6 separate regions of the Homo sapiens genome follow, and regions 2, 3, 4, 5 and 6 are each linked to region 1. The links are contacts of gene promoters, found by promoter capture Hi-C in blood cells and fetal thymus (Javierre and others, 2016). All regions are on one chromosome and are shown on one strand. The core of a region is centred on a gene start or on the middle of the fragment in contact, and the rest is flanking DNA. Distances in the headings are between cores, read along the strand shown. Region 1 holds the start of LINC01948 (long intergenic non-protein coding RNA 1948). Region 2 overlaps LOC105378977 (a long non-coding RNA gene). Region 3 overlaps LOC105378977 (a long non-coding RNA gene). Region 4 has its middle 56 kb from the start of C5orf67. Region 5 has its middle 15 kb from the start of C5orf67. Region 6 has its middle 38 kb from the start of C5orf67.

Region 1 (3,417 bases), core at 284-2,783:
AAAACAGACACTCAACACCATCAGCATCAGCTCTTCCCAAACCACCAGCCTTCCTCAGAACCTCCCTCATTTGACCTGTTTTAACTCGTGTTCCCTCGACCTTCAAATTTTCAGTGTCCACAAAGCAGATCAAGGCTATCACAAAACAAAACAAACACCAAAAAGCCAACCCACTGGATCTAGAGACCTACGGACTTGCCCTCCTGATACTTGCAGCTGGTGTTTAAGGACGTGCCTGCCTTGGGCGATGGGCGGGTAGAAACCTCACACACCAAAGCCCATCGAGCTAAACTCAAGGTTGCGAACCCCAACCCCGGTGGGAACACGGTCTGCAGACACGCTCCCTTAAGTCCCTGTCGCACACAATAAATTGCTTTCTGAATATTCCCTTTACAACTGCAAAAAATAGAAATGGCTGTAACTGTGCAGAGAAAGAAAAGAGAAGCTGGGATGAGCTCCATCAGGGGCCGAATCTGCTTCTCGCTGGTGGATACTGTGATAAGAAACCTAGATCTGAACGGCCTCACAATGGCCTATTTATCCGGCTCTTACGCACGGCCGGCAGCCCCGGCTGGGAATCACGGGGGTGGCAGCCGTCCCCGGAAAACGGCGGCATTCCGACACAGGAAAGCCCGCGGATCAACTGATCTGCAGACAACGCTTCTTCCTTCCTGGGAAGCGGCCACAAAGGCAGCCAGCTGACCCCGGCCCAGCGCGGCTCCCGGCCGAGGAGGACAGGGGCGGGGTGGGGAGGGGGGGAATCGTCGCCCGCCCCGCCCCCACCCCCCAAGTTTCCTTTGGCAAAAGCATCCCAGGCGTGGTTCAGGCAGAGTCCACGCCAGCGAGGCTGGGGCCGAAACTCTCCACGCCAGGAAGGCGGGGTAGGCGGACCCGCCGCCCCCAGCCCCGCGCGCCCGCCGCGCCCCCCACGGCCCCCACCAGCTGGCTCTTCCGGCCGGGGCGGCCTTGGCCTGGGGCTGGGGTTGACTTTGGTGGGGGGACAGGAAGGACTGGCACAGCGCCCGCGACTGTCCCCTGAGGAGGACCCTCCCTACGACTTTTGGTCAAAAGCAAAAAGAAACACAGACATGTGCGTCACCCCGGGAAGCGCGCGGGGGTTTCGCTCGCGTTTCAGGAGCCGACTTCGCATCCTCCCTCGGTAGGGGGGTCGGGGGTTCCTAAAATTTACCCCCCAACTTCACTTCTCTGGCGACAGAGCACCTTAACAGTTCATTTCCCTCTCGCTCTCAAGTGAAAACATCTTATTTTTGTGTTAAAATGTATAAAGACACCATGAGAATTGGCAGGAGGTCAAACCGTAGATTCTGAGATGCTCCGGTCGCTCCCCAGGAAGCGCTGTTTTCGGAAGTGTTGACCCAGCAGCTGGTCCCTGCTGCTCTAATGACACGATGTGTGCTTTCACTTTTTCACTCCCAAAACGACGTGGTTTGGAGTCTTGAGAGCCTTGGAAATCGCTGCCCGTGGAGGGAAAGGTCTGGAGAGGCCAGGCCAGGAGAGCAGACATGCTGCAAGAAGCGGAGGCAGCCCTGTGAACTCGCCTGGCTCCGCAGGGAGGGGCGAGGCTGTCCAGGTCGCAGGTGGAGCTGGCCAGCTGCGAGCCAGGATGTCCTTGCTCTTTCCAAATTATACACAGTTTCCACAAGGAAAAAAGAGAGGGGTAGGGGGTCCAGGCAGATCTTCAGCTGTTTGTATACTCTGCACCAGGAGGCGCTATCATCAGCCCGGACCCCTACTCCACAGGACTGAGGAGACCACAATTCTTCCCTCCAGGCAGAATCGTGGACCCAATATTCCCGTCTCCCCGAATTCTCTTAACTCAGTATACTGCCATTAACAGCATAGTCAGCCTTCTGGACTTGAACTCCAGAAGGAATTTTGTCTCATTTAGTGCCTGCAGGGGAGCAGGATGAGATAGTACCTCTTGTACCGGCACAAGGTCTCTGAGTTGACTCTTACATAAACATTGCGCTGTTTCTAGGGACGGCATCATTTCTTGACCTAGAGAAACAAAGATATTGTGGGAAGGACCCCTGATGCTCAGTGGCAGTTTGGAGACCTGGCATTAGCCTTACTCAGTAAGGCTTCCTGATCTAGCAGGACTGATCCAGTCAGCTTTGATGATCCCCTAGCCTGGTACTGGGATTCTTCCAAACACCCATGAGATCACCCACATCTCACAGGGGCTGGTAGTGTTCCAGCAGAGAAAGGTGAGGGTAGCAAGCAGTAGTCACTTTGGGCCTGAAATGAACATCTTGGGGTTTTTATATCTGCCCACCCACTATGGGACATTATTGTCCCTTCCTCTTTGCTACAGTGTTTCCAGAAAATGAGAAGTAGCATCTTCTTAGAAATAGATTGGGTACCCTGTCTTAGACCTAGTTCCTTTTTTTTTGTTTTTTTGAGACGCTGTCTCACTCTGTCTCCCAGGCTGGAGTACAGTGGTGCGATCTGGGCTCACTGCAACCTCCGCCTTGGGGGTTCAAGTAATTCTCCTGCCTCAGCCTCCTGAGTAGCTGGGAATCCAGGTGTGTGCCACCACACTCGGCTAATTTTTGTATTTTTAATAGAGACAGGGTTTCACCATATTGGCCAGGCTACCCTTGAACTCCTGACCTCAAGTGATTCGCCTGCCCCAGCCTCCCAAAGAGCTGGGCAGTTACTTTTATTATAGTTCTAGATAACATAGAAAAGAACATGGAAAGCAGCTATGCAAGCAAAACACAAACACAAACAACCCTGTTAAAAAGTGGGCAAAAGACATGAACAGACACTTCTCAAAAGAAGACATGCAAGCAGCCAACAAATGTGAAAAGATGCTCAGCATTGCTGATTATCAGAGAAATGCAAATCAAAACCACGATGAGATCTCACACCACTCAGAATGACTATTATTAAAAAGTCAAAAAAACAACAGATGCTGGCAAGGCTGTGGAGAAAAGGGAACACATATACATTGCTGGCATTGCTGGTGGGAATGTAAATTAATTCAGCCACTGGGGAAAGTAGTTTGGAGATTTCTCAAATAAAACAAAACTACCATTCGACCCAGCAGCAATCCCATTACTGGTACATATCTAAATGAAAAGAAATCGTTTTACCAAAAAGACATTCATTTTTATGTGCTTCACAGCATTATTCACAATAGCAAAGACATTGACTCAGCCTAGGTGTCCGTCAATGGAAGACTGGTACATATACACCATGGAATACTATGCAGCAATAAAAAAGAAGGAAATCATGTCCTTTGTAGCAACATGGATGCAGCTGGAAGCCACTATTCTAAGCAAATTAATGCAGGAGCAGAAAAACCAAACAGTGCATGTTCTCACTTATATATGGGAGCTACATATTAGGTACACATAGACATAAAGATGGCAACAATAGACACTGGGGGAT
Region 2 (3,677 bases), core at 115-2,614, 150 kb before region 1:
GCATAACAAGATAGCCTTTGCTCACCATGCCTTTTCTCCCCTCTTCCTCCAATAACTTGTCTTGCCATGCCCCAAGCCTCTATTCCTTGCTGTATGGTATATAACCTTCAGCCATCTGGCTTTCCATTGAGTCTCATACTTTGTGTGTGGCTTCTGTGTCCATATGCACATTAATAAAATTTGTACACTTTTTTTTCCCTGTGAATCTGCCTATTGTTAGTTTGTTTTATAGACTCAAATTATTTAAACTTCAGAAGCAAGAGCGAAGGAAATTCTCTTCATCCCTACCCAGGCAAGCTGAGATGGTTGACATCACTGTTTGCACAATCACTAAGTCCAGGTTAGGAAAGAGAAGCAATGCCATACGGTGATTGAAACCCAAATTCTAAAGCTAGACTCACCTAGGTTTGAACCGTGACTTGTCAATTAGATGATGACCTCAGGCAAGCTTCAGTTTCTTTATGTGTAAGAAGGGAGAAATAATGTTGTATGCCTTAAACAGTTGTTGTGAAGATGAAATTAGCTAATATTTGTAAAGCACTTAGCACAAAACATTGTTCATAGTAAAAGATCAATTATGGTTAGCTTTTAAATTGATGTAAGAGTCTTTAGAAATGGATAAAATGATAGATATACTTTTCTCCCTTTTTTCTTTCCTTCCTTTTTCTCTTTCCTTCTCTTTGTTCTTTTTTCTTTTTAAAATGCAGGTGTAAATATAGAAGGGAGATGTGTTTCTGAAGGTCTAGCAATTGCTAGAGCACTAAAATACCTCTTTTTTTTTTTTTTTAACCAGCGCTCATTACTGTCTGTCAACTCTAAATGCCACCCAGACATTTCTAGGTAGTGCAATTTTGCCCTGCCAAGTGAAAGCATTTCATGACGCTCAATCATTAGGCAGCTATTTAAAACAATTTTCTTTCAGAGCTTCTCCTTCCCTTGGGCATTCATGCTGAAGACTCTGTCAAAGTGCCTATTTCCTGGAATCTGGCTATAGCAGACTTCCCAGAGGTTGGTACACCAGACTAATCATTTTTCTAAGGCAGCACTGGAGCCCTCAGGATACCAGTTGAATCTGATCCACATGGTAGCTCTGGGAACACAAAATGCTAATGATGTGGAACTTAGGCCACTGGTATTTATTCTATTGTTGTTTGCTTATTTATTTATTATCCGTGCAGGCCAACCAAAAGATAAATTTGGGACCAACCTCAAACAAGGTAATTGGAGTGTTCATTCAGTAGTCTTAGCTTACTTGTACTGGCCATCTTTATGTCTTTAGTGAGTCCATATTAGAAATGACGGTGTCTTTTTAGAAGGATGAACTAAGCAGAAATGTAGAAAAATCAGAATTTTTGAGATTCAACTTTGAAGACAACCTCCTCCAATTCCTTGGAGAGTATTTTGCTCATTTAATACTTGGTTACATTGTAACATTTTGCAACCCACCAGGAAATCACTCTAACAGTAACTGCTCGTCAAACAGTGACAAGAGGATTTGGGGAAGGCAAACAGCTGCAGATTCAGATGTGGGAGGGAGGTGGGCAGATGATGGGGGAATGAATCTTGAGTGTCCACATGCCAGGGAGAGGCTCAGCCAGGAATGACACTCCAGGGTGACTGACAGTCAATGAAACTTGCCATTCTAATCAGCAATAAAAAGGAATGAGCTGTTGCTATACACACAACAGGGATGGATATTAAAATAAATGTGCTGAGAGAAAGAAGCCAGACCAAAAAAAAAAAATAGTGCCTACTGCCTTTCATTTATATACAATGCTAGAAAATGGAAACTATTTCACTGTGACAGAAAGCAGATTAGTAGTTGTCTGTGACTGCACTGCCACCATTCAACCTGTTTCTTAGGTCAGTAATTTGGCATCACCTTGAATCTTCCTTCTCGCTCTCGCTCCTGGTGCCCATTGACTCAGTAGACAGGCCCTAAAGAGTCTACCTTGTAAATTTTGTTCATAATCACCCTTTTCTCACTGTTTTCATGGTCACTTTCTTAGGTCCAATCTTCATACATCTTTTCTATTTCTTATTTGTAGTAGTCTCTAAATGGTTTCCTTCCCTCTATTTCCTGCCTATTCTAATTTATCCTTCATACTGTTTTCTGAATAACCATAAAATATTTTCTATCTTTAAATATAAAAAACAAAATTATAAAATATTTAAAAAATCATTTAAAATGTGCATAGAATTACAAACACTTCAGTGCCTATAACCCAAGATTAAGGACTGTTCACATTTTGGAATTTGTCTTTTGTGTATTATTATAAAAGAAGCTTCTCTTTTAATGGAACCATCTTTGCTCTACTTCCCATCTTCTATGCCATGGGTGCTCCCCAGTTTCCAACACTGTCATATATTTGTATATATCTATTTAGCTCATGTTGCGTACTTCTAATAAATATATGTATTCCTGTTTAAAAATTAAATAAATGATATAATATTGTATATGTCATTCTGCAACTTGCTTTATGACAAGTGTTTGATAACTATGTGTGCTGATATAGATGAAGATGAAATTGACTCTATACTGCTATATAATATTCTTATTACATTATACATTATGCATTATCTTGTGGGTGGGGCATTTGTGCTGTTTCTAGTTTTTTGCTGTTAATAGAATTTAAAAAATAAATATCCTTGTGTATGTCCCTGTAGTGAACTGAATGATGGCCTCAAAGATATGTTCATGTCTAATGCCTAAAATCTGTGAATATCACCTTGTATGGTGAAAGATGTTATTAAGTTAAATATCTTAAGAGGAGGAGCTTAGTCTGAATTATCTGGGTGGGCTCTAAATACAATCACATGTGAGAAAGAGAGGCAGAGGGAAGTTCAATACCACACATACAGAAGAGAAGGCAATGTGAGCACAGAGCAGAGATGCAGCCATAAGCCAAGGAAAGCCAATAGACACCAGAAGTGAAAGAGACAAGGAATGCATTCTCCTCTAGGGCTTTTGGAGGGAGCTCAACCCTGCTTCACCTGCATTTCAGGCATCTGGCCCCCTGAGCTCTAAGAGAATAAATTGTTGTTGTTTTAAGCCAAACAAACTTGTGGTAATTTGTTATGGCGGCCACAGGAGCTAACACAGTCCTGCATTACATTGAACAGTAATTTTCCACGGATTTAAACTTATGAGTCACAGGGCATGTGCAGTTTCCACTTTACTTAAATATTTAGTGAGTGTGTTACTTGCAATTGCAAAAATATGGAGCCAGCCTAATTGCCCGTCAATTAACAAGTGGATAAAGAAAATGTGGTAGATATATACCATGGAATACCACTCAGCCATAAAAAGGAACAAAATAATGGCATTCACAGCAACCTGGATGGAATTGGAGACTACTGTTTTAAGTGAAGTAACTCAGGAATGGAAAACCGAACATCATATGTTCTCACTCATAAGTGGGAGCTAAGTTATGAGGATTCTAAGGCATAAGAATGATACACTGGACTTTAGGGACTTGAGGGAAAGGGTGGGAGGGGCATGAGAGATAAAAGACTACACACTGGGTACAGTGTACACAGCTCGGGTGATGGGTGCACAAAAATCTAAGAAATTGCTGCTAAAGAACTTACTCATGTAACCAAACATGACCTGCTTCCTAAAAACCTATTGAAATAAAAAAAAAATTTAAAAAATAAAATAAAATGAGCTAAAAAGA
Region 3 (3,718 bases), core at 1,096-3,595, 170 kb before region 1:
ACCAGTAAAATGTCCAAATGATGTCTATCAGGCCATTCAAAGAATGAGTCTGTAGCTTGGGAACAGGTAATTTGTTTGAGAGTCTTTGTCATTGAGGTTCTGTGGGAATAAATGACATTGTCAAGAAAGAGAATGTAGAGGGAGAAGAGAGGCTGACTTGAGGAAGAAGTTTGGGGATACTGATAATTAAATGACAGACAAGGAAGAGGCATCAGAGAAGGTCAGAGGGAGAAGCAAAGGAGAATCAGGTTGGAAACCAAGGAAGGAAAGGGAATCCACTGGTTGCTGTGTCCTGGGAGGTGGAGCAGGATGCAGTGGAGAGAGACTGTTGAGCCTCACTGGCATAAAGAAAGGTGATGCTTGATGACCCTGAAGGCGGAATTGGCCAAATTTCAGGGTTTAGTGAGGGAGTACTGGGAAAGTAGAGGAGAAACTCTGCCATGCCTGGGGAGAAGCAAGAACTCCTGTGGATGGGGGTGGCTGGGTGGGAGACGCATGGATGGGACACAGTGGTAGGCCACCAAGAGTGAAATGCTAATTGCATAGGCACCCCAAAGCTTCCATGCAAGCTTAGCAAAGCAAGTGTCCCAAAGGGTTCAGATGATGACAAGTCTTTCTTTCATATGGAGCTGGGACAGATACTTTGCCAAAGCCTCTTTAAATGCTGGCGACACTGTGAACGCCCCTCAGGGACCACAGGGAAGAGGATCCCACAATCAATTATTATCTGGGCACTCTTTACTCATCGTGGAATTTGGCGCGCCCTTGGGTGCTGTGTTCCAGCTCAGGATCTCCACTTTTCAGATTAAAGAGCTGTTATAACTCTCTGTTTATTTTAGGAAAGATTAATGGTTCCCCCTCCTCGTTTCTCAGGGACAGACTTTAATCTGTCTAGAGTGAGTCATGAAATATATCAGCTCAACCGCTCTGGCTGCAAGATTACAGATATAAAATTGTCCGATTTTGACAAAAAACAGCTGCAGCCCTTCTTTTGATTTTGAGTCCACAATCACATGTGGATAGAGACAGATAGGGGATGTGCCTGGTAAGAGTTCCACGATAGGCAGAGACATAGGTCAGGAGACACAAGCCCTCCACCCTTATCTATAATCCTCCCAAGAGCCTCCAACTTGTCACCTTCAGCAAGATGTCTCTCAATTAATTCATGTCAGGTTAATTTAACTCAATTCAACCAACTCTCACAAGCTACTTTCACGATTAATGTGGAAAATGAAAGGTGAGCAAGAAGGAATACTCTCAACAAGTTTCAGTCTACCGGTGGTGAGCTAAGACCCACCAAGGAATAATCGTGATAAATGCTATTTAAAGCTGTTTGAAGAAAGAGGGCATTGAAAGGTGAGCTCCAACCTTAGGCAAGACCTTCTGGAGAGGGCAGTGTTGGAGCTGATCTTGAAGGGCCTTGGCGTGTGTGTATGTGCACAGGTGTGCATGTGTGTATGCACCTGAGTTTACAGGGTTAAGCAGAGAGAAAGTGAAGCATTCCAGGAAAAGATACTTTGATAAGCACGTGGAGACAGAGAATTGCAGTGCTTGGGGAATGTGTGGGAAAATCATAGTTGAAGAGGGCTTTAGGTCCAGATGTTTGATGTGTTAGATTCACCTGGGCAACTTGTGAAAAATTCATCAGCCAAGGTCTTGCCACTGGATTTTAAAAGCTAGGCTGCTGGGATTTTGAGACGTTAATGATTTGCCAGGGTCATTTTGCTCATTAACTAATAGTAGGACCAGCTGGAGGACCTGTTTTCAGGGAAGAAAAAGTTTGTTTTGTTTTGTTTTAATTCAAAACTGCTGGGGTGTAAGATTTGCGAGGGGAGTTACAAAATAGAAGACTAGAAAAGTAGGTTGGACCCAAATTATGGATAGATTCAATGAAAGGCTAAGGAAATTGGAATTTTTCTATCAGCAGAGAGAGTCATTGAAAGTTTCAGAGAAGTGACATTGTCAAAATAATCAGAGATATCATCTAAAAACAAAAACTTATGGGTTCAGCCTGTTGACTGGAAATAGGAGTATAACTGGCTTACAGATTCCATACCTTCCCAGCCAGTTAGGCCCTCCTACTCTCATCTGAATCACATTCCTCCATAAGCCTATAGAGGCAGGGGTCCCCCCTCTTATATAAGTGATGAAATATCTCTGAGCACCCTCACTGTATCAAGCATTTCAAAACAGCTCTCTAAACCCTAAGGATGTAGTGTTGGTAAGATGAGTGTAAATGCTCATTTGGCTCTTGGCCCAAAGAAAGTACATGCTAATCCTCCCCCAAACCCACCTCATGGGGTCCATCTACCTCTGTGGTAGGAGTAGCAGCCCTGAGTCCTTGCCTGAGGATAAAGGGAGAGTGTATGTGGGTGACCACAGTGCTTCACCACAGCCAAGAGAGCAAATCAGGAGTCAGGCCTGCAGATGATGGACCCTCTCAAGGCTTCATGGGCAGATGGCAAGTCACAGAATGGGGATAGAACTGTGTTGCTCCTGGAAGTCTGCAGTCTGGAAGTCTGGGCCCTAGTTAGGGCTACATTGCTTATTGCAATCAGAAGAGGAGAGGTGGGAAAGAGATTTGAAGCCTGATTAAAAGCCCACCAGCTGTTTACACCAGGTGACGCTGGCCTTGGGAAAACAACTACTGGCCCGAATAGCTGCCCCGTGGGTACTTAGCTCACCTGCTTCCTCATACTGCTTGCCTTCACCACGTGGAAAATTCTCTCAGCCTTTACCCATAATTTGTCTTTCTTCTTTTTGTTTTCTGGAGGGTAAAATGTAGTTTCAACTGAGAGATCAAACAAAGATACCCTAAATGGAAGCACTCTGTATAGAAGGAAGCTCAAGATTGCAATTAAAATGTTGGCAGCATCATTGGAAGGCAGAGAAACTATCACCTTGGAACAAAGATTGGGCTAAAATAATCCAGAATGAGGAAAATTGTTTAAAAGAATTATCTACACCATGAAGAAATTCATCAGCATTTTGTGTAAAAGATGGAAGGTCAGAAGTAACGTACCTTTCATTTATACTGTGTTCAGATGTAGCATTTCTCAATGGGTATGTTATTGATAATTAGGCAGTACTGTGTTATATACAATTTTTCCACATTGGCAGCCACCTCGCATCCCCAGCACCTCCTCCAAAGTGCCAGCAGCACTCTCAGTCATGGTAAAACTAAAAAAGTCCTGAGAAACGCTGCTCTAATGTTTCAGAGTGCATGTGAATAAGTTATTTCCTTTAATCAGCATAATGATTCAAAATATTTGTAACATTTTCACTCTTCAGATGATGAACTGAGACCGAAAATGAATTGCTGGCTTTTTCACCTGTCTAGTGAAGGGTGCTGCTGGGCCTCAAATTCGAATAGACTGATTCCTAATTCAGTTCCTTCTCTAAAACATTGTGCTATCTTTCAATGGAGGCAGAGATTTATACTTGATTTCATCAACTAATATATATATGCACCTGAACTTTTGTTGTTATTTATATTCTAGCTATGTTCTAAGGAACATAGATTTTGTTAAACAGAACACACTTTGTTTCGCTGAGGGCCTTGATGGACACTTAGCGGTAGGAGCTAAGGGGAACTGGGCTAATTTGTCTGATAGAGGGAGAAGGTCATGGAGCTCCCAGGGAAAATAAGGAAGGAAGAGAGGACAGGACAGAGAGCCTAGAGGTAGAGGACCTTGGGAAGCCTGGAACTATGTAACAT
Region 4 (3,691 bases), core at 633-3,132, 180 kb after region 1:
TCTCATCACAAACCAAGATCACAGCTACTGTTCCCATTGATCTTTCAACCCCACAACAACACCAAGGAGCAGTAACAGGCCGGGCGCGGTGGCTCACGCATGTAATCCCATCACTTTGGGAGGCCAAGGTGGGCAGATCACCTGAGGCCAGGAGTTTGAGGCCAGCCTGGCCAACATGGTGAAACCCCGTCTCTACTAAAAATACAAAAAATTAGCTGGGCATGGTGGCGAATGCCTGTAATCCCAGCTACTCAGGGAGGCTGAGGCAGGAGAATTGCTTGAACTCAGGAGGCGGAGGTTACAGTAAGCAGAGACCGTGCCACTGCACTCCAGCCTGGGCAACAAGAGCAAAACTCCATCTCAAAAAAAAAAAAGGAACAGTAACAGTTCCTGTATTCTATTTCTCCTGAGCCCATTAGGTAATGATTGCTAATTGCCTTGAGGAAAGAGACAGCATACTGTCTAGAACAGATAGGTGAGGAAGAATCATTCCTGACTTTCTACTTCTATAGGATATAAAGTCTTGCCTGTGTCTTTTCACTTAAGAGATGCAAGTTGACCCCCTCCCCAAATGTCTCCTTCCAGGAGTTTATTGTTGCACATGAAAATCCTATTCTCGTGATATTCCATGTTTGTTAGTGGAAGCAAGTGTATTCTGCATGAATAGAAGTATGTCTGTTTTGGTGGAACTTTGCTGAAGTGTAAATACCCATGGGCTCAAGACATCAAGCTTTACAGGTGATTAACTTTAGGGTGCTATGTAGTTGATCCTGTCCTTCCCAGAGTGATGGCTGTGATAAAGGGGAGAGGGAACAGCCCCAGGAAAAACCTGTACCTACTTTGCAACGAACAGAATCTGTAGGGGGATCTGGTACAACTTAAACTTTGTTCCCCCCACAAATTTTTGCCAGAAGGTTGGGACCTGGCCTCATTCTTCAGGGTCAGGGGACTGTTTCCCATGCCAGTCCATTCTACTTTTGAACAAATCTTACTCATTAGATCATTGGAGAATCCTTTCTTGCATCAATTTCCATTTGATTTCCCTTAAACATGCAGACATTCATCCTGGTCTTGCCCCACTACTACATGCACTCTAAAATCTATAAAATCTTCTAAAATCCATAAGCTCTTCAACCCTTCCATAGAGAAATCACTCATGCCTCCTCCTGAGCTTTTCCATTTTGGGCTAAATCATGGTTTCTGCAATTTCTGCAACAGTTCCAGATATGATACAGTTGCCTGATTTTTAACCAGCTGGTTGACTGTCTCCAAACTCTGCTTTTTTGTTTTTTGTTTTTTGTTATTTGTCTTTGACCCTATTAAGTATATGGAACTCAGCTGCAGTTTGACTAGAGTTAAAATGCAGACAGGCCATTGCCATCCTTTATCAGAGGATTCTACTCCTGTGAATGCACTCTAAGACTTGATGCTCACCACGTGGCAACCAACTCCCATTGGACTTCCTCGGTGATAAAACTCATGAGACTTTCCACATGAACTTCTGTTAAGCCAGTCATCTCCAGTCAATTTGTTTTTTTTAACCGAAGATCTGATATTCATTCCTCATTTAACTTTATCCCCTTAGTTTCAGTCCATTGATCTAACATGTGGAGCTCTTTTAGAAATACTGATTCAGTCAGTAAAACCTCTCAAATTTATGTAATCTACAAACATCTAAATATGTCTTCTCTATTTTCATTCAACTTGTTGATGAAAGTGAAGATAAGACCAAAAAGCTCAGATATTCGAGACCAAATGTCAGAGACATCACCATGTCCTGTTCAGAGCCATGTTGATACAACAAAAGCAGATGCCAGATGCTGGAGAGTTCAGTCCTGCTTCCCAGTCCAGAGACACTTCACATAAAGGAATACCACATTTTTGGACATAAGAAAGTATTCTATTGTTTTCCTTGAGTTGATATTGGATAGGGGTGTTTGGTATTGCTTTTCATACTATGCACACATAGGATTCTATGGATGCAGAAAGAACAGCCTTTTATCCTACCTTACACATTACATAACAGGCCTCTGACCTTTAAAGAAGATTATTTTTTATTAAAACAGCCTTCTTGCCAAAGTCCTATGTGCTCCTTTCTAAGAGAGATTCCCAGATTACCGCTTATCCAATCAATACGACAATAAAAGACACATCAAAACCTTAGCCCTGTATTTTCCTAGGGTTCTCTAAATCCTGCCCAAAGAGGTGCTGTTTTCATTTCCCAAGAAAAATAGAACCATTCTACGAATTACTTGTGAAAACTAGCTGAAATTCTAAATTCAAGATCTTGCAAAGTAGATTTGAATGCTAAGTTAAGACAGCTTTCAAGGTAGAAGCTCTCAGTTTGAATACAGAAACCCGTTTTGGCAAAGTCATGTGAAAAATGCAAGCATGTCCCAATCAGAAGTTCTCCCAGCCGTTTCCCAGCTTCATGTCTAACAGAGGTTGAGTGTGAGCTGAAGAATGGTTTGAATAATAACATGAGAATAAATAAGTCACTTATTTGGGGATTCTAATGGGGAAAAAAAGTCACTAAGTAAAAAGTCACAACTAAGTTGAGATTTGAATTAGCTTCATCATGGAATGAACAAGAAAAACCCAAGTAATTCTATTTCTTTTGGAGTTCAAGCCCATCAGAGCATGAATTCCTCTCCTATAAGATTCTATTACAAATAAGTTGGATCATAGCTCACCTTGCCACATTTCAGCCTTATAAAAGAAGCCTTCCAGAAGGGATTAGCCTTTCTCTTTCCAAAAACCCTGAACAAATTTTCATGTACCCTTCTTGATCATTTTGCAGGAATTGTTCTGATAAAATAGCATTTCCCTCCTCCAGGTCTAATGCCCATCACCTTCTGACACAGTAAGTGACCAAATCTTTCCCTCATAATATGTCCCCATTCAACCCTTCCTCTGTTTTCCCTTATTTGCTGTCAGAATGACATAACAACTGAATCCTTCAGGCTCGGGGGCCTCTCTTTTCTTCAGTATTCAAATGTAATTATTTGAACTGCAGGAAGTCTGGTATCCATCTCAAGCTTCCAGAGGCTCTGCCATAGGAGGCTTCTGTTGGGTGGGTGCCGGTCACTCATTTCCCAACCCCTGCTCCTGGCTCCTGCTGAGCTTCTCAACCCTCTTGCTCACCCTCACAGCCCTCCTTTCTTTGCAGGTACACTGTTCCCCTTCATTCCGCAAGGCACCACTAATGTACAGCCGTATTGAATAGGACTTACACTGAAGGTTTGGAAATTTTGGAAAGGCACTATGCAAAATTGGACTCAGCATCACTGTAGCTAGTGTCTATCCATAAGGAGTCCCTTCCTGGCTAAGTTACTGGGCCTGCCCTCAGAATGGGGTCTCTGGCACCCTATCCTCTCTGCCTCACTCACCAAGGGAAAACTCAATCTTCTTTAACAATAAGAAAGAAGAAGAAAGAAAACAAAATAAACAAATGACCAAAATCTTTAATAACCCAGCAATCCTAAAATGCAGACATGTCTGCAGTCAGGTTTTGTTTTTGTGGGTATTTTTTAGTAGCAATTAAAAATGTTTAGCAAGCAAAAAATTTAACAAGCAAAAAAAAATTTACGATATAAATGTGCAAAATCACTACAGCATTTTTAAAAATCATAGTACATCTATATGATGTAATAGCATTTGGTTATTTAAGGTTATTTGGCTTCCTGTATAA
Region 5 (3,616 bases), core at 24-2,523, 140 kb after region 1:
ACTGCACTCCAGCCTGGGCTACAGGGAGAGATCCTGTCTCAAAACACAAAAACAAGAATAGTACCATACCTTCATTGAGCTCATAGTCTTCTAGGGGGTTAGAATGGGGTGGATTTGAACACAGAACTGCTATGAAGAATGTTATCTGTAGTAATGGGGAATATATAGGCTGCTTGGAAGCCCACAGCAGGAGCATTTATGGACTTCCAGGGACGTCAAAGAAAACTTCCTGTAGGAAGTGACATTTAAGCTGCATTCTGAGTCTTATATTTATGGCTTCATTCTACATTTAAATCAGGAGTTAATTTAAGTTCAAGCAGCAATGTACCTAGTAAATGTGATCAAAATAAGAGCTATCATTGCTTTTACATGTTGGATTTCTATATGTGCTTGGGTCTGTTTCTGGGCTTTGCATCCTATTTTTTTAAAAGCTGCCTCTTTTTGGCTCCTATGTGTTCTCTTTATAATTATTGTCTTAATTTTGTATTTGAGCCAACATATAAAATCATTTGCTTTGCTTTTATTAATACTTTTTACACTAAATTAATTTTCTTGATGTACACCTGTACTTTTGTCAGTTTATTACAATAAAATCACTTTTCACCATATTTATTATAGTTTTCCATTTAACTTCTTAAAATACTTAAAAATTGTATGTACTAAAAGTACATACAGTATATTTTCACTACTTAATGAAAAATAAAAAATGACACCCATGTCCCTCACACTGTGCTCTGATCCATGCAGAGGGCTTATGTGCTGCTTTCTGATCTGTCCATTTCTATGCCCTCAGCCGTATCCTACATTGAAATAGCACTGAGCATTCCCTTGCTTTTCTTCATAGTTTTACCACCTGTGTTTCCTCCAAGCAATATATCATTTCATTTGCCTTGTTTCAACTTTTCTTAACGAAATCATTCTATATTTTTGTAACTTCCTTCTGTGGTTCAGCATCATATGTGTTTACATATACAGATAGAATACAGCATGTTCATTTATTTTTACTGCTACATGGTAGTACAGTATATATATATCCTTAAGTTTTTTAATCCAATTCATTGTTGATGGATATTTATATTACTTTAAGATTTTTGCTAATAGGAATAACGCTTTTCTGAACATGCCCTGGTTCACCTGTAAAAGTTTCTCTAAGATTTATACATAGAAGATAAATACCTGGGTCTTAGAGTATGCACATATTCACCTTTACCAGTTAGTGCTGGATTGTTTAACAAAGCAATTGTAACAAGCTACGCTCCCACAAGCAGCCTTTGAAAGCTCCTGTTGCTTTCTCGCCAACACTTGGTATTAACTGACTTTTTAACTGTCATTAATCTGATATGAAAGGATACTATTGTAGTATTTATTTACATTGTCTTGACATATAATAAGAGCAATAATATTTTATATATTTACTGGCTGTTTGTATTTCCTCCTCTAGAAAATGACTGTTCATGAAAATTGCCCATTTTTCTATTAGTTTATTCCTCTCTTTCTTAATGATTCAAAGGGTTCTTTTGCATTCTGAGACTAGCCCTTTGGTCACATGTGTGGCAAATGTCTTCTCCCTCTTTATGACTCTTATTTTTTCTCTCTCAGAGAAAATAAGGTTTCTTCTGATAAGCTGAAGTTCTTGATTTTAATATAGTCAAGTATAATAATCTTTTCCTTTATGTTTAGATGCTTTTGGTGTCTTGCATAGGAAGTCTTTCCCTACCTCAAAATCATAAAGATATTTCCTATTTTTTTCTAAAAGGCTTAAATTTGGCCTTTCCATTTTTAAGTCATGAATGAATCTGGAAATGATTTTTGTGTAAGGTCTAAAGAGAAAGGCATTTTTAATTTTTTTATCCTTTGTAAGGACAACCAATTTTCTCCCATTACTTCTAATTGAATAGTCCTTTTTTGCCTCATTGATTTTTTACTCACTGAAGATGACATCTTTTAGAAGTTCTAAATTTATGTGAAGGCATTCAATCCACCCTGTCCTGGATTAAGCTCCAGTTTTTGCTCCTGTCCCTTGAGAATATCTGGCCCATGGAAATCTAGACAAAATCCTCCAGGGATTTAAGGGAGTATAAGGGGATATTGCACAAGGCAAACACAGATCAGAGTTCACTTCTACCTGTGGTATCATCCTTTCTTCCGTCTCTGGCCTCCAATTGTTTCCCCACTTTACCACCAGCTCAGTCCTGCCTTTATAAATATTAATTTCAGGTATCCGTATAGGAAGAAATTTCTCTATACTTTCAATTAAAATTATTGCCCTTAATTTAAAATCTAAATCAATTCGATGTTATTTCCAGTTCTTTTTATTTCACTTATAAAGTTAGGATTCTTTCTTTCTTTTTACATCATTGTTATTACATTTAATCTGGTTAGCTGAGTTATGTTTCTCAAAAAATTTTCCAGGAAGGGTACATGAATAATTCCATTCCTGTGAATATTTTAGTATTTCCCTTACATGAGAAAGACATCTTGGCTGAGTGACACTCTTTCCCCTCTGCATTCTTTAGATGTTATTCCATTGTCTTCATCAGAAAATGATCCTGAAGTGCTTGAGATCAGGCTAAACTGTTGGCCTGTTTTTGTTTTTGTGGGCTGATTTTTATGGAGGTAGGGGTAGAAATAAAGTAATAGTGATCTGCTTCTGTTTCTATTGTTGGATGATTACAGAAATTTCTTTTTTTCATTTCCTTTTCTTTTTTGATGTTATTTAACATCACCAGAATATACTTTGATATGGGTTGTTATTTATTAAGTTTTCCCAGGTTACAATAATCCCTTTCAATCTGCAGATTCAGATTGTCCTTCATTCTAGGAAAGTTTTCTTATATTATATCATTGAATGTTTTATTTTTTCTCTTTTCTTGTCCATGAATTGCTATTTTCTGTGTATTAAATCTCCATCGACTATTCTTCATAGCCATAATGTCATTTCTAATCTCTCGCAATTCAGTTCTTTTCCTCAGTTATTTTTGGATTTTTCTCAATTCTATCTTTTATCTCACTAATTTTAGTTCTTCATAGTATCAATGTTGTTTTTACTACTTCTAATGTCATTTAAATTGCTTTAACAAAATGGCTAGTCAGGCTGCAGTCATGAATATTCCATAGTATTTCAGATTTAAACTGGCCTCAATCTCACAATGTTTTAAAACTTGTATGAAGAGTGAAAATAAAAAAGATAATTGACTTCATCGTTGAGAAAAAAGTGTAAATATAATATATAACATATATATAAATGTACAAATTTGGCATTTGTGATGTTTTTACATGCTCTTTTTTTGTCTCTTTTCTCCAAATGTACATTCCATTTTGAGAAGAGACTTAGGAAAGTAGCCAGACATGAGTAAGTTTGGCCGCACCCAAAGAGAGGGCTGATGAATTCCCTTCCAAATATACAGTTCTATAATATGTAAACTGTAATTGTTTCTCAGACTGTTAAAAAATTCCATCAACTTCTCTGATACATTAAGTAGATTTGTACATTATTTTTTCTTTTTTAATGAAATAGCAACTGTCCTCTATCAAAATCAAGAGACCCTAAATAAAATCCTGTCCAAAGTAACAAAAGAAAGGTATAGCAATCATAGTGTTTTCAATTCTTAAGATC
Region 6 (3,919 bases), core at 142-2,641, 160 kb after region 1:
GAGGGGATTTTATAATAACAATCTTTAGGGCTGAACCAGGATTGGCTAAGAACATGAAAGGAATTGGAAGATTTGCGGCCATCTAGCTACAGGAGAACAAAGTTCACCTTTCCCTTCTTCTCCTCCCAACAGGTATGCTCCAAAGATGATGCCTCATTAATTCTGTGGTCCTGTCAGTTTCTAATATTTCTAAAATGTTCTCAGATGCTCAGGCAAGCACAGACCAATGAACGAATGTAGATACTAAAGGCAAAGTTTTACAGGACTCTAAAGCCATTCAGGCAAAGACAAGGTGTAAACAGAATTTATTCTAATTACTATTATTATTTTTATTATTTTAATCAGATAGGTCTATTCAGGACATGCAAGCTTAGCTTTTGAGTCTTGGTCATAAACCTTTGGGCATTTTTTTCTAAGTCCTTGTAATAGCAACAATGAGAGATTAAGCTAGAAAATAAATCTACTAATGAGTAGCTATCTTATAATTAGTAAGCACTCTCCTTCATATAAAATTCCATGCCAGTCTCTAATAGCCACCCTCTGTACTCACGTAGAGCCTTTCATCTGAGATGCCCAAAGTACTTCTTGCTAATACCAGTGCCAATTCTCTCAGAATTTCTGTAAGTCAGGGAACTAGAATTCCCATTCATACGGCATACTGACTGTTCCTGACATCTAAGCCCTTCTGTCTCCATCTTATGTAGTTGTAGGTGGGCCCCTGCCCCAGGTCACTGTGGTACCCACAGCTCAATGAAGGGGAGAAAGGATCCTATCAAGGTAGGAAATTCTGGTTGCAGCCACATAGGAGACAATGGGACAGAAAGGAAGCTACTTCATTGGAGTTAGGCCTGACTGCAAACCCTGGCTCCTGTGTTTCAGCAAATTAACTACCCTCTCTGAGCTTCAGTTTTCTCATCTATAATCAAGAATGGGGCCAGGTACAGTGGTTTACACCTGTAATCCCAGCACTTTGGGAGGCCAAGGCACAAGGATTGCTTGAGGCCAGGAGTTTGAGACCAGACCAGGCAACGTGACCCCATCTCTACCAAAAAAAAATTTTTTTTAAGTTATCTGGGTGTGGTGGGGCACACCTGTAGTCCCAGCTACTCAGGAGGCTGAGGCAGTAAGATCCCTTGTGCCCAGGAGGTCAAGATTACAGTGAGCTATGATCATGTCACTGCACTCCAGCCTGGGCAATGAGTGAGACTCTGTTGAAAAAATAATAATAATAAAACAAAAAAGGATGTAATATAATAGTACAGTTCTTGACCCACATTAGGCACTCAATAAATACTTGCTTGGGGTATGAGGCTGTATCAGCCTTCATATCCTCAATTTCATTGTATCTTTGAAAGTAAGCAATGTTGTGTCTGGTTAATACTTGGTTGAGGGCCTGCGTGGGAATAATGCTCATAGTAAGCACTCAGTAAATCCTAGTGGAATTGTCTTGCATTGGGAGAGTCTATTTCCAATGTCCATGCCACCCAAGCCAACTTGAGTTTTCCACAAGAACAATCCAATATTATCTCATGTAAATTCTAATCCCTGTGTTTGAAAGATTTTTTTTAGGTGCAATTGTAACCTCCCTCTTCAGTATACCTGGGTTGATTTTCCAAATCCCTTCCTGTTCTGCATTCATAACCAATGGGGAATACTGTTATGAATTGTATCACTTTGTTAAATACCAATAAAAAATTATTAGTTACAGCCAGATGCAGTGGCTCACACCTGTAATCTCAGCACTTTGGGAGGCCGAGGCAGGTGGATCACCTGAGGTCGGGAGTTTGACACCAGCCTAACCAACATGGGGAAAACCCGTCTCTACTAAAAATACAAAATTAGCTGGGTGTGGTGGTGCACACCTGTAATCCCAGCTACTTGGGAGGCTGAGGCAGGAGAATCGCTTGAACCTGGAAAGTGGAGGTTGCAGTGAGCCAAGATCAGGCCATTGCACTCCAGCCTGGGCAACAAGAGAGAAACTCTGTCTCAAAAAAAAAAAAAAAAATTATTAGTTACAGGGATTTGTTGAAAGGATTTCTTATGTAAAATTGTCTTGTATAAACTTTAATGTATTAATTATACTTTGTGGATTTGTTTGAATTATTTTTAGAATGTGAATCGTTTAGTCCTTTCAGATATTTGAAAACAAAATAATATACTTTGGATTATAAATATCATATTTTCATTAGATTTTTCATAACTCTACCAAAAATCCAGTCATGCCATTCGGCAATCAAAAGCTATAAAGTTACGAGAAGCTCCAATTTTCTGGATCTGAAAATTAAAAAACAATTTATAAACTTATTTGGAAGGCCATGATAATGACACCACATTTACTCAGAACTCACTTATCTAACCTCAGCCTGTTCAAAATATTGAAATAACCAAAAAGTAAGAATGAGCTTGGAAAAGGGAAGCTTCTGAGCAGGCAAAATAGACATTAATATGTTAAACATCTATATTTCATGGTTGTGAATTTCATTGACAAGAGATCTTTTAGAATATCACTCAGAGCTAAGTACTCTTATTTTGTCCACAATGCTAACAAGTTTTTCATTCGATTTTGCCCATTGTTGGTGGATGAAAAGCAGCATATCAGAAGTGTGTAGACATTAGAGAGAAGAAGAGTTCTCCTGGGTGTCAGCCCATAAGCCAAGAAACCAGCTGGTTTTTGCATAACTATTTGTCTGGCACTTTAGCAGATATTAAGGGAGAGAAAAGTAATAGTGATTGTCCTTACCTTCCCCACCTTACACCTTGGTTGGTAGTAGAAAAGGGACACATACAGGAAACAACTAGAGAACAAATAAATTGTGCAGTACCGGCCATATGCACTAAAATAACTCAGAGAAGGGAGACATCAGCATGGAAGACAGTACAACAGATTTCACTGAGACCAAATCTTCTGAAAAATTATAAATTACAGCAAGCTCTCTGTCTTAAAGATAAAAAAAAAATCTGGAAAGTGGTATCTTGAAATCATTGTGGTAAACATTTCTCTTTGGCCCTAAGACCAATTTTGAGACAATTACATTTTTATTTTACCAGGTGGTAAGGCAGTTAAGAGTGGGGACCTGCCAGCACCCATTCTTTTGTCCTACAGAGCATATAGCTGTGCTGTGTACAGAAAAGCCAATTGTAAATATTTGTCAAATTGAATTTCCAAGTCAGGGCATATTAATATACTCTGTTAATTATCACATTAAAACCTAAACAGGTGGTAAATTTAGATGAGATGCAGAGAAAAATGCAAAACCAGCTAAGAGCTCAAACGGACTAGGAAATACCTAAAAGATTGGGGAGAAAAGCAAAGGTTTGCTCAGAAGAGATGAACAGGAAGTTTTAGGAAACTTCAAATATCTAAAACACAGGGATGATTTCTTTGCACATACCTGGAAAACCAAATTAGGGGAAATCAACTTAAGGTGTAGAAGGAGCGATTTCGATACCAAGGCATTTGGAATGTACTCTTGAATAAAATTATGTTTTTTAATGTTTTCTTTCATATGCTGCTCTTTAAATGGTTCTGTGAAATAGCATGGAAGCAGAGTCATGGGTTCAGTGACACATTCAGTAGCCCTGGGCTGAAAGAACTGTGTAAGGCCCACTCCCCCACCCCACCCCACCAACCCTGCCAATCCACAAGAGCACTGATACCTTCTGAGAAGGGGCTCCTTCTCAATGGGGTTCATGCAGATTATACCTGGAATCAGGATTCTGAACAACTCCTTCATGAACCGCTCTGCTCATGACCCAGGTTGGGAAAGAGGCCCATCTGTCTGCTAGAATCAGCGGGAAACAGTGATGGTAAAGGCATGAGCCAAAGGTTCTGAAGGTGGGAAAATGTACACACACAAGACTCGCTGCCTGACTCCTTGGACAAAGACAGATGCTGGCTTGGTGTGATTTAAGGGACACC

Evidence for each region. Contacts are between HindIII fragments. The CHiCAGO score rates a contact against its expected background, and 5 or more counts as called.
Region 2: a fragment that was not itself captured here is called in contact with the fragment with the promoter of LINC01948 in region 1 in 9 of 17 cell types (total B cells, naive B cells, neutrophils and 6 more); the score reaches 17.5 in total B cells.
Region 3: a contact is called between a fragment that was not itself captured here and the fragment with the promoter of LINC01948 in region 1, in 8 of 17 cell types (total B cells, naive B cells, neutrophils and 5 more). The highest score is 12.9, in total B cells.
Region 4: a contact is called between a fragment that was not itself captured here and the fragment with the promoter of LINC01948 in region 1, in 5 of 17 cell types (naive B cells, total B cells, neutrophils and 2 more). The highest score is 14.6, in naive B cells.
Region 5: a contact is called between a fragment that was not itself captured here and the fragment with the promoter of LINC01948 in region 1, in 2 of 17 cell types (naive B cells and total B cells). The highest score is 5.9, in naive B cells.
Region 6: a fragment that was not itself captured here is called in contact with the fragment with the promoter of LINC01948 in region 1 in 9 of 17 cell types (naive B cells, total B cells, neutrophils and 6 more); the score reaches 16.5 in naive B cells.

The regions. Positions count from the first base shown.
Region 1 is chr5:56,480,236-56,483,652 of GRCh38, forward strand. LINC01948 (long intergenic non-protein coding RNA 1948) reads right to left here and starts at 1,534. Exons shown (of 5, transcript NR_104664.1): 1 at 1,318-1,534. RefSeq lists enhancers at 1-102, 1,303-1,462. The HindIII fragment of the contact is 6,332 bases long and covers 1-3,417 here.
Region 2 is chr5:56,329,449-56,333,125 of GRCh38, forward strand. All of the region lies in intron 2 of LOC105378977 (a long non-coding RNA gene), which reads left to right. Among named protein-coding and RNA genes, the nearest start is that of ANKRD55, 98 kb to the left of the region's middle. The HindIII fragment of the contact is 1,837 bases long and covers 447-2,283 here.
Region 3 is chr5:56,310,021-56,313,738 of GRCh38, forward strand. All of the region lies in intron 2 of LOC105378977 (a long non-coding RNA gene), which reads left to right. Among named protein-coding and RNA genes, the nearest start is that of ANKRD55, 79 kb to the left of the region's middle. The HindIII fragment of the contact is 3,556 bases long and covers 568-3,718 here.
Region 4 is chr5:56,660,672-56,664,362 of GRCh38, forward strand. No RefSeq gene overlaps it. Among named protein-coding and RNA genes, the nearest start is that of C5orf67, 56 kb to the left of the region's middle. The HindIII fragment of the contact is 2,308 bases long and covers 729-3,036 here.
Region 5 is chr5:56,618,996-56,622,611 of GRCh38, forward strand. No RefSeq gene overlaps it. Among named protein-coding and RNA genes, the nearest start is that of C5orf67, 15 kb to the left of the region's middle. The HindIII fragment of the contact is 6,601 bases long and covers 1-3,616 here.
Region 6 is chr5:56,642,095-56,646,013 of GRCh38, forward strand. No RefSeq gene overlaps it. Among named protein-coding and RNA genes, the nearest start is that of C5orf67, 38 kb to the left of the region's middle. The HindIII fragment of the contact is 2,048 bases long and covers 368-2,415 here.